Regions from separate parts of the Homo sapiens genome. Here region 2 is linked to region 1. The links are contacts of gene promoters, found by promoter capture Hi-C in blood cells and fetal thymus (Javierre and others, 2016). All regions are on one chromosome and are shown on one strand. Each heading gives the region's core, a stretch centred on a gene start or on the middle of the fragment in contact. The rest is flanking DNA. Distances are from core to core; before and after follow the strand shown.

Evidence for each region. Contacts are between HindIII fragments. The CHiCAGO score rates a contact against its expected background, and 5 or more counts as called.
Region 2: a contact is called between a fragment that was not itself captured here and the fragment with the promoter of ADCY3 in region 1, in 2 of 17 cell types (erythroblasts and megakaryocytes). The highest score is 5.5, in erythroblasts.

The regions. Positions count from the first base shown.
Region 1 is chr2:24,914,452-24,921,695 of GRCh38, reverse strand. ADCY3 (adenylate cyclase 3) reads left to right here and starts at 1,459. Exons shown (of 22, transcript NM_004036.5): 1 at 1,459-2,013; 2 at 2,512-3,383. The coding sequence starts at 2,709. LOC124907742 (a long non-coding RNA gene) reads right to left here and starts at 1,352. Exons shown (of 2, transcript XR_007086246.1): 1 at 1,124-1,352; 2 at 238-698. RefSeq lists silencers at 905-994, 1,005-1,214, 1,255-1,314, 1,345-2,074 and an enhancer at 4,477-4,726. The HindIII fragment of the contact is 7,828 bases long and covers 1-5,730 here.
Region 2 is chr2:24,388,152-24,394,849 of GRCh38, reverse strand. No RefSeq gene overlaps it. Among named protein-coding and RNA genes, the nearest start is that of ITSN2, 31 kb to the right of the region's middle. The HindIII fragment of the contact is 740 bases long and covers 3,617-4,356 here.

The DNA.
Region 1 (7,244 bases), core at 210-2,709:
TTCAAGACCAGCCTAGCCAACATAGTGAAACCCCATCTACTAAAAATACAAAAATTACCCCGGGCTTGGTGGTGTGTGCCTGCAATCCCAGGTATTCAGGAGGCTGAGGCAGGAGAATTGCGTGAACCTGGGTGGTGGAGGTTGCAGTGAGCTGAGATCACAACACTGCACTCCAGCCTGGGTGACAGAGTGAGACTCAGTCTCGAAAAAATAAAAAATAGAAATAAAATAAAACAATGGGGCAAAGTTTTGCTTTATTTAAATTACCAAACTCCTATATCTGATGTTAGGTCCCCTACCTTTGGAATCAAAGCCCTGCGAAGTATGGGCTGAAGGTGGCGCCTTTTCAGACAGAGTGTGAGGGAACGGTAGAAACAGCAGTGGCAGGATCGATTCTCTAATGGATCCATTCCCCGAGGGATGCAAGGTGATGCCTGAGGTTCTGGAAGGGGTGCCCGCGGATAACTCTCAGGGGCATGGGGTGGCAGCTCCATCCAGGGTCTGGATAGCCAAGTTTCTCTCCCCTCTGTTCATTCCTTCAGCTCTCCCCAGGGGAGATGACCCCCTATTGCTGCTGGCTGTCCTCAGCACTTACCTTCCCACACATGCTTTTGTCCCTTTTGTCCCAAAACATTCTATCTCTTTCCTCTTCCTTTATTTAAATTCCCAAAGCCTGTAGTTGATCTTAGCACGGTGTTCTGTCAAATGCAAGGAAAATAATTTATACTATGGTGTAAGAGACTGATAGGTTTAACTATTCAAAGGAGCATTCGCATCTTTAAGGGACAGTTTGTGAACTCAAACACATCTCAAACGGGTAGAATGTGCACGGGAAATCTCTTCGAAGCAGGGTCTCAGGAACTCTTCCAGTTCCACGTGTGTAGTGCCCACCGGGCCACCGCCACCCGCCTCCTGGGAGCAGGACAGGGCTCCGCTGCCGAGCCCCTCTGCGGAAAGCTCAGGCCCGGCGCTCCGGAGTCTGGGCTCCCGGGGTGGGCGGGGATACTTAGGCCCCACGTGCCCCGCGGCGGAGCGGTCCCCAAACCTGAGCCCTGGCCTCTGCCGGCCCGGAAGGAAGCCGCGGCGGAGGAGGGGGCGGCGGGGTGCCCCGAGCGCGCCTCACCTGCGGGCGGGCGCGTCCCGGGCTTCCATCCTCCTAGACCGGGCCTCCTCGCTGGAAGGGGTGGATTCGCCCCAGCCCTGCCGCCCACCGCCCACCGCCCACGCCCGCGCCCGCGCCCGCGCTTCCACGCAGCCATCGCCCCAGCCCGCCGCCCGCGCCGGATCGGGGGCCGCCCGGGCCCCTCCACCTCTCGCCCGCGCGGGTCCTGGGACCGCCGCCCGGCGCCTCCCTCGCCGCCCCACTCCGGAACGCGCCGCCGAGAGGGCGGAGACTGGGGCGAGGGAGGGGCCGCCCCGCCCGCCTCCCGCCTCCCGCCTCCCGCCTCCCGGGGCCTGGAGCGCGCGTGGCCCCGGAGCCGCCGGCGCCGCGCGGGGAATAGCTGTGCAGCACGCCGAGCCCGGACTCGGCTGGCTCGGCTCGGCGCGGGCGGGCGAGAGGATGCTGGCGGGCTTCCCCGGGCTCGGCCCGCGCTCCCGCCGGGGAGGGCCCCGCGCGCGCCCCTAGCAGCCGCCGCCGCCGCGGGTGCAGGGGAGGGGTCCGGAGAGCCGCGCTCGCCGCCGCCCGCGCCTGCCGGCCCCCGCACGGCCCCTGCCCCTGAGCCTCAGCCCCAGGGCGGGCGCGCTGGGCCGGCGCCCACGGATCTCCCAGCCCTCGTCGCCGCCTCCTCCTTCCCCCTGCGGCCGGGCGCCCGCGGATGCTGAGGGGCAGCCCTGCGCCTCTCCCGGTCGGATCCCGGGCCTGACGGCGGGAGATCGCGCTCCGGCCGGGCCCCGAGGCGCTGCCGGGGCGGCGCGGCTCTGCGGGGAGCAGCCCTCGGGCGCGCCGAGCTCTCCCGCCCCAGCCCGCGCGGGGACCGTCCCGGAGCACGCGGTGGCCGAGTTCCCGCACAGGTAAACGCAGGGGCAGGGCCAGGCTTCCGGGGGGGAAGACAGCGCCCCGAGCGTGGGAAGGGGGCCGGATCGGAGCCCGAGCCTCCAAGGGTTTGGTGGAAAAAGGAAGTAAACAGAAGGAAGGCTCAGGAATCCCCCACGATGGTCCTGATTTCTTTCCGGCACATTTTATTTACAGCTTCTAAGGACTGGGCCTGGAGGGAATTTAGGTGAGGAAGTCGGGGACTGAGAAAGAAGAGATGACAGAGAGAAACCGGTTACCAGGGATGGAAAGGCGGCTAGGCCCTTCCACAAGCCAGGGACAGGAAATTGAGTGTCTGGCGTGGACAGGACTAAGTGTGCCTGCGGTGGGCGGTGGTGTGAGCCGGGGGTGGCAGGGAAGGCCCTGGGTTGGGAGGCTCTTGCAGCAGAGATCCTTTTATGAGGGTTAGGGCGGGTCATGGGGAAACCGCAAGGTAGGAGGGAAGAGGTGCTTCTACTCAGCAATGCCCTTTTCAGTTCTAGCTGATCAGTGCTACCTGTGCTCTGGAAACCCGCTCTGCGTTCCTGCTGGAGGTGGCCTCCCCTCCGCCCCAGACAAGAAGAGGCCCTCAGCCCTCCCCCGGTCTCAGAGAGCCCTGAGAGGAGGCCCAGTCCAGAGCTCTTCCTCCGTTCCCAGTCCACTTCTCTAGGGCCAGTAGCAGACACCAGCCAGTATGCCGAGGAACCAGGGCTTCTCCGAGCCCGAATACTCGGCCGAGTACTCAGCCGAGTACTCCGTCAGCCTGCCCTCCGACCCTGACCGCGGGGTGGGCCGGACCCATGAAATCTCGGTCCGGAACTCGGGCTCCTGCCTGTGCCTGCCTCGCTTCATGCGGCTGACTTTCGTGCCGGAGTCCTTGGAGAACCTCTACCAGACCTACTTCAAAAGGCAGCGCCACGAGACCCTGCTGGTGCTGGTGGTCTTTGCAGCCCTCTTTGACTGCTACGTGGTGGTCATGTGTGCTGTGGTCTTCTCCAGCGACAAGCTGGCTTCCCTCGCCGTGGCTGGAATTGGACTGGTGTTGGACATCATCCTCTTCGTGCTCTGCAAAAAGGGGCTGCTCCCGGACCGGGTCACCCGCAGAGTGCTGCCCTACGTGCTGTGGCTGCTCATAACCGCCCAGATCTTCTCCTACCTGGGCCTGAACTTCGCGCGTGCCCACGCGGCTAGTGACACGGTGGGCTGGCAGGTCTTCTTTGTCTTCTCCTTCTTCATCACGCTGCCCCTCAGCCTCAGCCCCATCGTGATCATCTCCGTGGTCTCCTGTGTGGTGCACACGTTGGTCCTGGGGGTCACCGTGGCCCAGCAGCAGCAGGAGGAGCTCAAGGGGATGCAGCTGCTGCGGGAGGTGAGTCCTGCCCACTGTCCCCCCACAGCGTCCTCTCCTGCAGCTCTCACCAACTTGGGACCTGTTGGAGTTGCTGTTTGCTTTGCCTTTGAGTCAAAATGTGTCCTGGGGGCCTCCGGGGCTCTCACCTCTCTCCCTAGTCCCTGCCTTTTCACCCCTGTGCCATTACCCGGAGTCTGCCTGTGCTTGGCCCCAGGGAAAGGAGGATGTCAGGGCATTGGGCCTCAGGGCCACTCTTCACCTGTGCCCAGTCTAAGTGTGTGACAGGAAGGCCCACCCAGGGCTGGTCTTGAGGCAGCATTGTCCTGGCCATTCCCTGTCAGTGACCCTGGCAAGGAGGACCTCCCTTGGGAAGAGGGCTCCTTGATTCCCATCTCTCCCCAGCACTGACTAGCTGTGTGGACTCAGTGCCCCTTTGTCAAATGGGGATAACGTCCGCTCTGCCTGCATGACACGGTTGTTGTCAGGATTGCAGGAGATGTGGGGGAAAGCGCATTAGGATACGTGAAGGGCTGCACAGAGGGAAGACGCAGTTGTCATATTTCCTGCCTCCGGGAGCTCGGGGTGCCTGGGGAGTTCTATGAAGTGGAGAATGGTGGTCTCCCCACTGAAGGTGTGGTGTGGGGATGCAAATGGGGACAGTCATGCCGGCCACTGTGACGTAGGGTCTCCTGGTCCTAAAGCACGCATTCTGCTGGTCCTGGAGCACGCTTTCTACTGGAAGGGGTGGAATTTCGGCCTCAGCTTAACTATTATAGTATTGTGTTCCCACCAAGTGCCAGGCCCTCAGGGGCTGCAGAGACCAGGGGACCTGAGGGACAGTAGGCAGTGTGTGTCCCTGGGGAGCCAGCAAGCCGGTGACCAGAGAATGAGGCGGAGATGTCTGCATCTGGGTTTGGTGCCCAGCCTGCCAGCCTCGTGCCAATGATGGTCAAGAGAGGCTCCCCCACTTCCTGCCCCTGCAGTGCTCTGTCTGGTAGAGATGTCTTAACTCCCACGCCAGCTCTGTTCTGTGGTTAGTGGGGCTGGGGTAGAGTCAGCTCTGAAGCGGTGACCTTCTGGGTGTCAGGAGAGGCAGGGCGTGCCCAGAATCCTTGCTGACTGACGTGAGCCTCTAGCAGCCATGGAGGTCAGTGCCTGGGTCCTGGAGACCAGGTGCTATGTGCAGGCCCAGGGTGGACAGACAGAATCTTCCACTCCTCTGCTGATTTCTCCACTCATGTCTCATCCTGCTGATTTGTTCTAGAAATGGGTAGAGGATGTTAACATAGGCAGGGCCTGGCAGGGCATCTAGCCCAGACTACCCATTTTACAGAGGAGGAAACAGAGATGAGTGATAACTGGTTCACTGTCACCCAGCACTTTGGTGGCAGAAACAGGACGGGAGCCCAGGCATTGACCCCCAGCCCAGGGCTCATTTGTGTATGTTCCTTGGAGCACTGAGAGCTGCCTGAGAGCAGGAGCTTTGCTTCCCACCCCACCTCCTGGAGACAGTGGCTATGTGCTGCCCTGCCGTCCCCACCCCAAATCTCTGTAGAGGGGGCTGTGAGTTTCTGGTCATTGACTAGGTGGAAACACCAGTCATATCTCTTCAGGCCATGCATTAGCCAGTCCCAGGTTCTTTTTTTTTTTGAGACGGAGTCTTGCTTTGTTGCCAGGCTGGAGTGCAATGGCGCGATCTCAGCTCACTGCAACCTCCGCCTCCCAGGTTCAAGCTATTCTTCTGCCTTAGCCTCCTGAGTAGCTGCGATGACAGGCACGCGCCTCCACGCCTGGCTAATTTTTGTATTTTTAGTAGAGACAAGGTTTCACCATGTTGGCCAGGATAGTCTCGATCTCTTGACCTCATAATCCGCCCGCCTCGGCCTCCCAAAGTGCTGGGATTACAGGCGTGAGCCACCATGCCCAGGCATCCCAGGTTCTAAGGTCTGAGGTCTGAGGATGACTGGTCTCTCTAGCTCCATCTCCTCAGGTGGACAAGGAGCTTATTTTGAGGCTCCTGGAGCTTCCAGGGAAAAGGACTGAGAAGGTATGGCCACAGGGCTGGGCCGGGGCCTGGGTGCCCCACCACGTGGCTACTCGGAGATCACTTCTAAACTCATGATTGTTCTCCTTTGAGTATTGCTAAGACATAAAACCCTAAAACTTAGAAAACAGAAAAAAAAAGATAGAAATCAAGAATAAAAATATTAGCATCCCAGGGGAGCCTGACCTTGGCATGCAAGCAGTGCCTGGGAGGCAGCTTTGGGAACAGAGCAGGAGGGGCAGAGAGCTCTCAAGGTCCGATTGGGAGCCTGAGATCGAAGGCAGGAGGCCCCAGCTTACAGTGGGCTGTGTTCCAGAAGCTTCTGAGTCACTGGTTTGGGACTAATGTGACTTTTTAAAAGGTGCCTGGGTTCCCAGGCCCACCCACCAGGGTCTTCCTCAACTCACAGCATCCCGGCATTTGGCCTCTGAAGATGGTGGAAATGGGGCCGGGCATGGTGGCTCATGCCTGTAATCCCAGAACTTTGGCAGGCTGAGGCGGGCGGATCACCTGAGGTCAGGAGTTCAAGACCAGCCTGGCCAACATGGCGAAACCGCATCTCTACTAAAAATACAAAAATTAGCCAGGTGTGATGGGGCGTGCTTATAATCCCAGCTACACAGGAGACTGAGGCAGGAGAATCACTTGAACCTAGGAGGCAGAGATTGTAGTGAGCCGAGATCGCACCACTGCACTCCAGCCTGGGCGACAGAGTGAGACTCCATCAAACAAAAACAAAAACAACAAAAAACACAAGCTGCAGCAGCCTGTGTTGCTGTGGGGAGGGACACCCGGGACAGCGGTCTCCCCTGAGCCCTGGAGTGAGGTGTCATTCATCTCCCCTGCTGCCGTTGCCTCCTGGGATGTGGGCCCCATCAAGGATCGGGGGCAAGGGCTGGAGGACAGGATGCAAGAACCAGGGGACCAGGCCCCTTCTGGTCAGGGTAGGTCCCAGAACTTTCTCCAGACCCCAGGCACCGCCTTTCTCCTACCCATGTGCTTGCCCTTGTCTTTCTCTCTCCCATCCCCTGTCGGCTCTGGCTGGGGACTCCCTCCAGGGTCAGTGGGGGATGAACGCAGTTTCCCAGTTCGAAATAGACACCTGGATTTCTGGGTTCTTGTGAGTTTTGTGGTTTTGTTGCTGCTGTCACTGGCAGCATGAAGAAGCATTGCCAGTGTCAAAAGTCTTCTTCCTCTGCAGCCCTTATCCCCCCATGCCCATGCGCAGCTCTGTGGGGAAGGACAGAAGGTACACATGGGGCTGTTGGCAGCCTGAGAGGTCAGAGGCCAGCCAGACAACCTGTCCTGGGCTCCTCGCAGGAGGCCAGTGGGTGGGGTTCTGACAGGAAGAGCAGGTGATCAGGGAGTGTGGGATGGGGTGGGGCTGGGGCCCCACCAATGAGTTAATGAGTGAATATTGCCGAGCAGCATGGGCCTTGCAGCCTGCAAGGTCAGGGGATAAGGAGGATGAGGCCATCTGACACTCAGGCTGTGCTGGGGCGGGGAGGATGTTCTGAGAGCCACCTTGGGTGGGCAGAGACCTAGCCAATGGTTCTCACGACCCATCCTCTAGCCCCTGCCTGTCCCCCATTCCTTTTTTTTTTTTTTTTTGAGACAGAGTTTCATTCTTATTTCTGAGGCTGGAGTGCAATGGCACAGTCTTGGCTCACTGCAACCTCCTCCTCCCGGGTTCAAGTGATTCTGCTGCCTCAGCCTCCCAAGTACCTGGGATTACAGGTGGCCGCCACCACGTCTGGCTAATTTTTTTGTATTTCTAGTAGAGACAGGATTTCACCATGTTGGCCAGGCTGGCCTCGAACTCCTGACCTCAGATA
Region 2 (6,698 bases), core at 2,737-5,236, 530 kb after region 1:
GAAGCAAAGTTGGTTGCATGTCCACAGTATTCATAAAAAAGCAGAAGCATAGGAGAAAATGTAATTTTCTGATCCTGTGAATTGAGAAAAATTTCTTCCAGTGTAGAAGAACATACCCGTGTGGGTGCAGTGAGGGTGTGAAATGTCAACAGCATTGGAGCCAGCAGCTTCAGCAATGACAAGAAATAGCATCCATCTGGCAGGGGGCAGTGGCACACACCTGTAATCCCAGCACTTTGGGAGGTCAAGGCAGGAATATTCCTTGAGGACAGGTGTTCAAGACCAGCCTGGTCAACTTGGCGAAACCCCGTCTCTATTAAAAATACAAAAAAATTAGCCAGGCATGGTGATGCGCTTCTATAGTCTCAGCTACTTGAGAGGCTGAGGCAGGAGAATTGCTTGAACCTGGGAGGTGGAGGTCGCAGTGAGCTGAGATGGTGCTGCTGCACTCCAGTCTGGGCAAAGAGTGAGACTGTCTCCAAAAAAATAAAAAAAGAAAGAAAAGAAAAAAAGAAGTACCATCACTAGCACAAACATCAACAATTTGACCCCAAGTACCCACAGCCTTTAGACAAATCAGTGAGAGCCAACAGCAGACAGGGGTGTGGCCTTCAACTGGCCTCTGAAGAAAGAAGAGCAAGATCAGAAACTTCAAGGCAATCAAAGGAAGAAAGTCACAGAACATTGGTGAGATACTGCTTATGTTGCCGAAACACCAGGGGTGCGGTCTAGGTCCTGCTGCTCGTGACACAGAAAGCCAATCACTAAGATGCCGAGTACTGCCAAGGAAGAAGGCTTTAACCTGGTGCTGCAGCCGAGGACACAGCAGCTCAATCTCAAATCCATCTCCCTGACCGACTAAAACTAGGGGTTTATATAGGAGGGAAGAAATGTAACAATGTGCAAGAAATCCAGAACTAGGGAGGGACACGGAAGCAATTATGATGAATGAGCGGTCCAGCATCTCACTGTTAGGATGTGGTGATCTGGTGAGTTTTAGTTCTTTGACACTTTTTTTGAGAGGCCTGAAGGTTCTTTCCTGAGGAAGGAACTCAGATAAAACACGCCTGTAATCCCAGCACTTTGGGAGGCCAAGGCGGGCGGATTGCCTGAGCTCAGGAGTTCAAGAGCAGCCTGGGCAACAATGGTGAAAACCTGTCTCTACCAAAAAAAAAAAAAAAAAAAGTATAAAAATTAGCCAGGAGTGGTGGCATGCACCTATGGTCCCTCTCAGCTATTTGGGAGGCTGAAGTGGGATGATGGCTTGATCCCAGGAGGCAGAGGTTGCAGTGAGCTGAGATCGTGCCCCTGCACTCCAGCCTGAGCACAGAACCAGATTCTGTCTCAAAAAAAAAAAAAAAAAAAAAGAAAAAAAAGAAAGAAAAAGAAAGTAGAGTCAAATACTTATGCATAGGGATAGTGGAGAAAAGGATATTCAATAATTAAACGCATCAGATTGAGCATATGACACTTATTTCTGTTGCCTCCAGAAACTCTGCTAAAATGAGAATAAAATTTTTGAAATGAATAAACATAGTAAAGGGGGAACGTGAACAGCAACATAGCAGTTAGAGTTCTGGCAGGAAACAGATTGGCATGCTCAAAGGAGAAATGAAGAAAATTTAATGAGGAAACTATTTACAGAGGTGTGGGCAGGATTAAGAGAACCAAAAAGAGATGCTAAAGTACCCAGGCACTAGCAACACTGGGAAGCTGTCACCATCCCTAGGCCTCAAGGGGCAAGTGGAAAGAATAATTACTGTAACCTGGTAAGAACTCCAGGCATAGGAGAAAGTCACCCTAGGGGAGCCATGGAGTTAGGTACAAGTTTTCTGCCACTACCAACACAGCAGCCTCCAGGGAAGAGGCACATAAAAAGGGGGCACAGCAATGGCAATAAATGCGCTTACATCTATTATTCTATCCCCTCCCACTCTGCATTCTTCTTCCAGTCACTCCAGTTAGCTGAATCGAACTGGATGCCAAAAATCAAAGGAGTGCAAGTCCATAGGTGTTATCTTCTCAGGATACGGAGCGGGGCAGAAAAATATGGCTAATGGATGTGGAGGGACAAAACACAGAACGAACACAGGTGCAGACAAGCAATGTCAGCAGATTTCTGGAAGATAGAAATTACTAGTGTTACTCAAATTATGAAAGCTTAAAACCAAGAGTATGCTAATGAGAAGAAAACTGATATTGCCAGAGGATCTTGGACATGCTCAGAATTTGGAGGCACCAGGTATCTCTAAAGGCAGAAATTCATGTTACAGATGAAAAGAGAAGGATCCATTGAAAAACCTTACATGGCTCACTCAGACCCCTAGAACTCCATTTTTCTTTTCTTTTCTTTTTTTTTTTTTTTTTTTTTTTTGAGACAGAGTCTTACTTTGTTGCCTACCCAGGCTAGAGTACAGTGGTGTGATCTCAGCTCACTGCAACCTCTGCCTCCCAGGTTCAAGCGATTCTCCTGCCTCAGCCTCCTGTGTAGCTGGGACTACAGGTGTGCACCACAACACCTGGCTAATTTTTTATATTTTTGGCAGGGACAGGGTTTTGCCATGTTGGCCAGGCTGGTCTCGAACTCCTGACCTCAAGTGATCCACCTGCCGCAGCCTCCCAAAGTGCTGGGATTACAGGCACGAACCACCGGCCCCGGCCAGAACTCCTTTTTCAAAGACAGATGGACCTTCTTTCCCACTCCAGCAGAAGACTGACTGTGTGTTAAGAAACTTACAGCATCTAAACATAGGGATACCAGGCATAGCTGAAGGCAATAGGAATTATCAACATTCAGAGGGGTATCACCATTATATTGCTAAGTTTAAGGTTGAACTAGTAATTATTACATAGAAAACTGCTAAAACAACCCACAGGGCAATTATTAATTCTAATATGAATAAAAATTTATCTTATCAGTATTATATTACTTGGCTTAACATTGAGCAAGTGTTATATAGTGAGATAATATAAACAGTATAAATATTGATATAAACAAAAATGTACTACAAATATATTGGGAGTATGAAGAGAGGGAAGGAGGTTTTAAGTGTGCTAAATTTTGTGACTCCATAATAGAACGTCAATAGATAACATATAAATAAAAATATGAGAGGTCAAGCATGGTGGTTCATGCCTGTAATCCCAACACTTTGGAAGGCCGAGGCAGGAGGATCACCTGAGCCCAGGAGTTAGAAACCAGCCTGTTCAACATAGTGAGACCCTGTCTTTACAAAAGAAAAATTAAAAATTAGCTAGGCATAGTGGTGCACAATTGCAGTCCCAGCTACTCAGGAGGTTGAGGTGGGAAGATCACTTGAACCCAGGAGTTCAAGGCCGCAGTGAACCATGATCACGCCACTGCCCTCCAGCCTGTGCAACAGAGAGTGATCCTGTCTCAAAAAAAAAAGTGTGTGTGTATATATGAATATACATATATATGTACATATGAAAATTATGTGTGTATATCTATATATATGAATATTTTTAGAAATATTTTTAGAAAAGTAGATGTAAATAGAAGAAACAGCTGAAAGAATTAAAAGTTTTTCTTCCTGAGGGGCAGGTTTCAGGGTGGAAATGGTGGTATAGTGTTCTACTATTGTCATTACAAGCTTTGTCATTGTGTTAGACTTTTTAAAATTATGTGTATATCTCACTTTGACAAAAATTATTATTATTATTTTTTAGAGACAGGGTCTCACCCAGGCTGGAGGGCAATGGCATGATCATGGCTCACTGCAACTTTGACCTCCTAGGCTCAAGGGGTCCTCCTCCCTCAGCCTCCCAAGTAGCTGGGATCACAGGTGCATGCCACCATATCCAGCGAATTTCTTATTTTTTGTAGAGATGATGTCTGTCTACATTGCCCAGGCTGGTCTCAAACTCCTGGGCCCAAGTGATTTTCCTGCCTCCACCTACCAAAGTGCTGGGATTACAGGCATGAGCCACTGCACCCAACTGGCAAAACTAAAATTGACATTTAAACAAAAGAAGAAAGGGATATATGTATTGCCTACTTAAAACAACAAACAAACAAACCCTTTTGGAGAAATGTGACAGAATCCAAAACTTCTACAAGGTATCTTTTACAATATCCAAGGTACAATCTGAAATTACTAGACATAAAAATGAAATGTGACCCCAGTACTCAAGAGTCTGATGCTGACATGCATCAAATGTTGAGTTATAACAAAGACTTTAAAGCAGCTATTAAAATTGTGCCAAACAGAGTACATATATAAAGGAAAATATTACTCATAATTAATGAAAGAAAATACAAGCAGAGAAATAAAAACTATAGTAACCAAATGTAAATTATACAATTGAAAAGTTTAATATCTGAAATTTAAAGCTTTACTGGACAGGCTTAGAAGCAGATTGAAGGTGACAGGAGAAAAAAGTCAGAAAACTTGATGAGAAATCAATAAAAATTACTCAATCTAAGTAACAGACAGAAAATGGATGGGAGAGGGCGGGAATGAATAGACTCTCAGGAAACTGAGGGGAAATAGCAAAAGAGCTAAAATATGTGTAACTGGAGTCTCAGAAGTAAGGAAGAGAATATGGGACAGAAAAATTATTTTGAAGAAAAAGAGGTTGAAATTTTCTAAATAGGTTGAAAGATAAATTTATAGATTTAAGAAGCTAAGTAACCCTCTCCCCACCAAAAAAAAAAATATGAAGAAAACCATACCTGCACACAGTATAGTCAAAATGCTGAAAACCAAAGATAAAGAGAAAATCTTGAAAGCCAGAGAAAACAACTCACTATATGCAGGGAATGATGATACAAATGAATGCTGTTTCTTCTTATAAATAATAGATATCAGAAGACAGTGAAACAATATCTTCAAGTATAGGATCAGAAAAAAGTAAATCAATCCAGAATTCTATAGCCAGCAAAACATCCTTTAAGAATGAAGGCAGCCGGGTGTGGTAGCTCACGCCTGTAACCCAGCACTTTAGGAGGCCGAGGCAGGTGGATCACCTGAGGTCAGGAGTTTGAGACCAGCCTGGCCAACATGGTGAAACCCCGTCTATACTAAAAATATAAAAATTAGCTGGGCATGGTGGCAGGTGCCTGTAATCCCAGCTACTCGGGAGGCTGAGGCAGGAGAATCACTTGAACCCGGGAGACAGAGGTTTCAGTGAGCCAAGATAGCGCCACTGCAGTCCAGCCTGAGCGACACAGCAAGACTCCGTCTCAAAAAAAAAAAAAAAAAGAAGGCAAAATGAAAAGAAAAGGAGGGGAACATCACTAATCATTAGGGGATTGCAAATCAAAACTACAGTGAGATACCACTTCACACTATTAGGATGGCTACTCTAAACAAAACAAACTCCAGGATTGGACATAGTGGCTCAAGCCAGTAATCCTAGCATTTTGGGAGGCTGCAGCAGGCAGATCCCTTGAGCTCAGGAGTTTGAGACCAGCCTGAACAACATGGCTAAACTCCATCTCATTTTTAAAACTATATAAATAAATAAACTCCAGAAAATAGCAAGCATTGTCGAGGATGTGGAGAAATTGGAATCCTTGTGCACTGTTGGTGGGAATGTGAAATGGTGAAGCTGCTGCAGAAAACAGTTACGGTGGTTCCTCAAAAATTAAAAATGGGGCTGGGCACGGTGGCTCATGCCTGTAATGCCAACACTTTGGGAGGCTGAGGTGGGCCGATCACTTGAGGCCAGGAGTTCAAGTCCAGCCTGGCCAACATGGCAAAACCCCATCTCTACCAAAAATACAAAAATTAGCTGGGCATGATGGCACATGCCTATAATCCCAGCTACTCGGGAGGCTGAGGCACAAGAATTTCTTGAACCTGGGAGGTGGAGGTTGCAGTGAGCCAAGATCATGCCACTGTACTCCAGCCTTGGTGATAGAGCAAGACTCCATCTCAAAAAAAAATTAAAAATTAAAAATGTAATTTGCATATGATTCATCAATTTCACTTTTGGGTATATTCTCAAAAGAATTGAAAGTAGGGTCTTGGCCAGGCAAGGTGGCTCACACCTGTAATCGCAGCATTTTGGGAGGCCGAGGCAAGTGGATCATGAGGTCAGGTGTTCGAGACCAGCCTGGCCAACAGAGTGAAACCCAATCTTTACTAAAAATACAAAAATTAGCCGGGCATGGTGGCACGTGCCTGTAGTCCCGGCTACTTGGGAGGCTGAGGCAGGAGAATCGCTTGAACCCGGGAGGCAGAGGTTATGGTGAGCCGAGATCGCGCCATTGCACTCCAGCCTGGGCAACAGAGCGAGACTCCATCTCCAAAAAAAAAAAAAAAAAGAAAGTAGGGTCTTGAAGAGGTATTTGTACACCCATGTTCATGCCAGCATTATTCACAATAGCTCTAAGGTGGAAGCAACTCAAGTTGCAGATAAATGGATAAGCAAAATGTTATGTATACATAAAATGGAATATTATTCAGCCTTAAAAAAGAAGGAAGTTCTGACACATGCTACAACACAGATAAAACTTGAAGACATTATGCTAATTAAGCCAGTCACAGAAAGACAAATATTGTATACTTCCATTTGTATGAGGTACTTAGCATAGTCAAAATCTTAGAAAGTAGAATCATGGTTGCTAGGAGCTGGTGGGAGGAGAAATGAGAGTTATTGTTTAGTGGATATAGAGTTTTTGCAACATGAAAAGAGTTCTGGTGATGGATGGTGGTGATGGTGAAACTGCC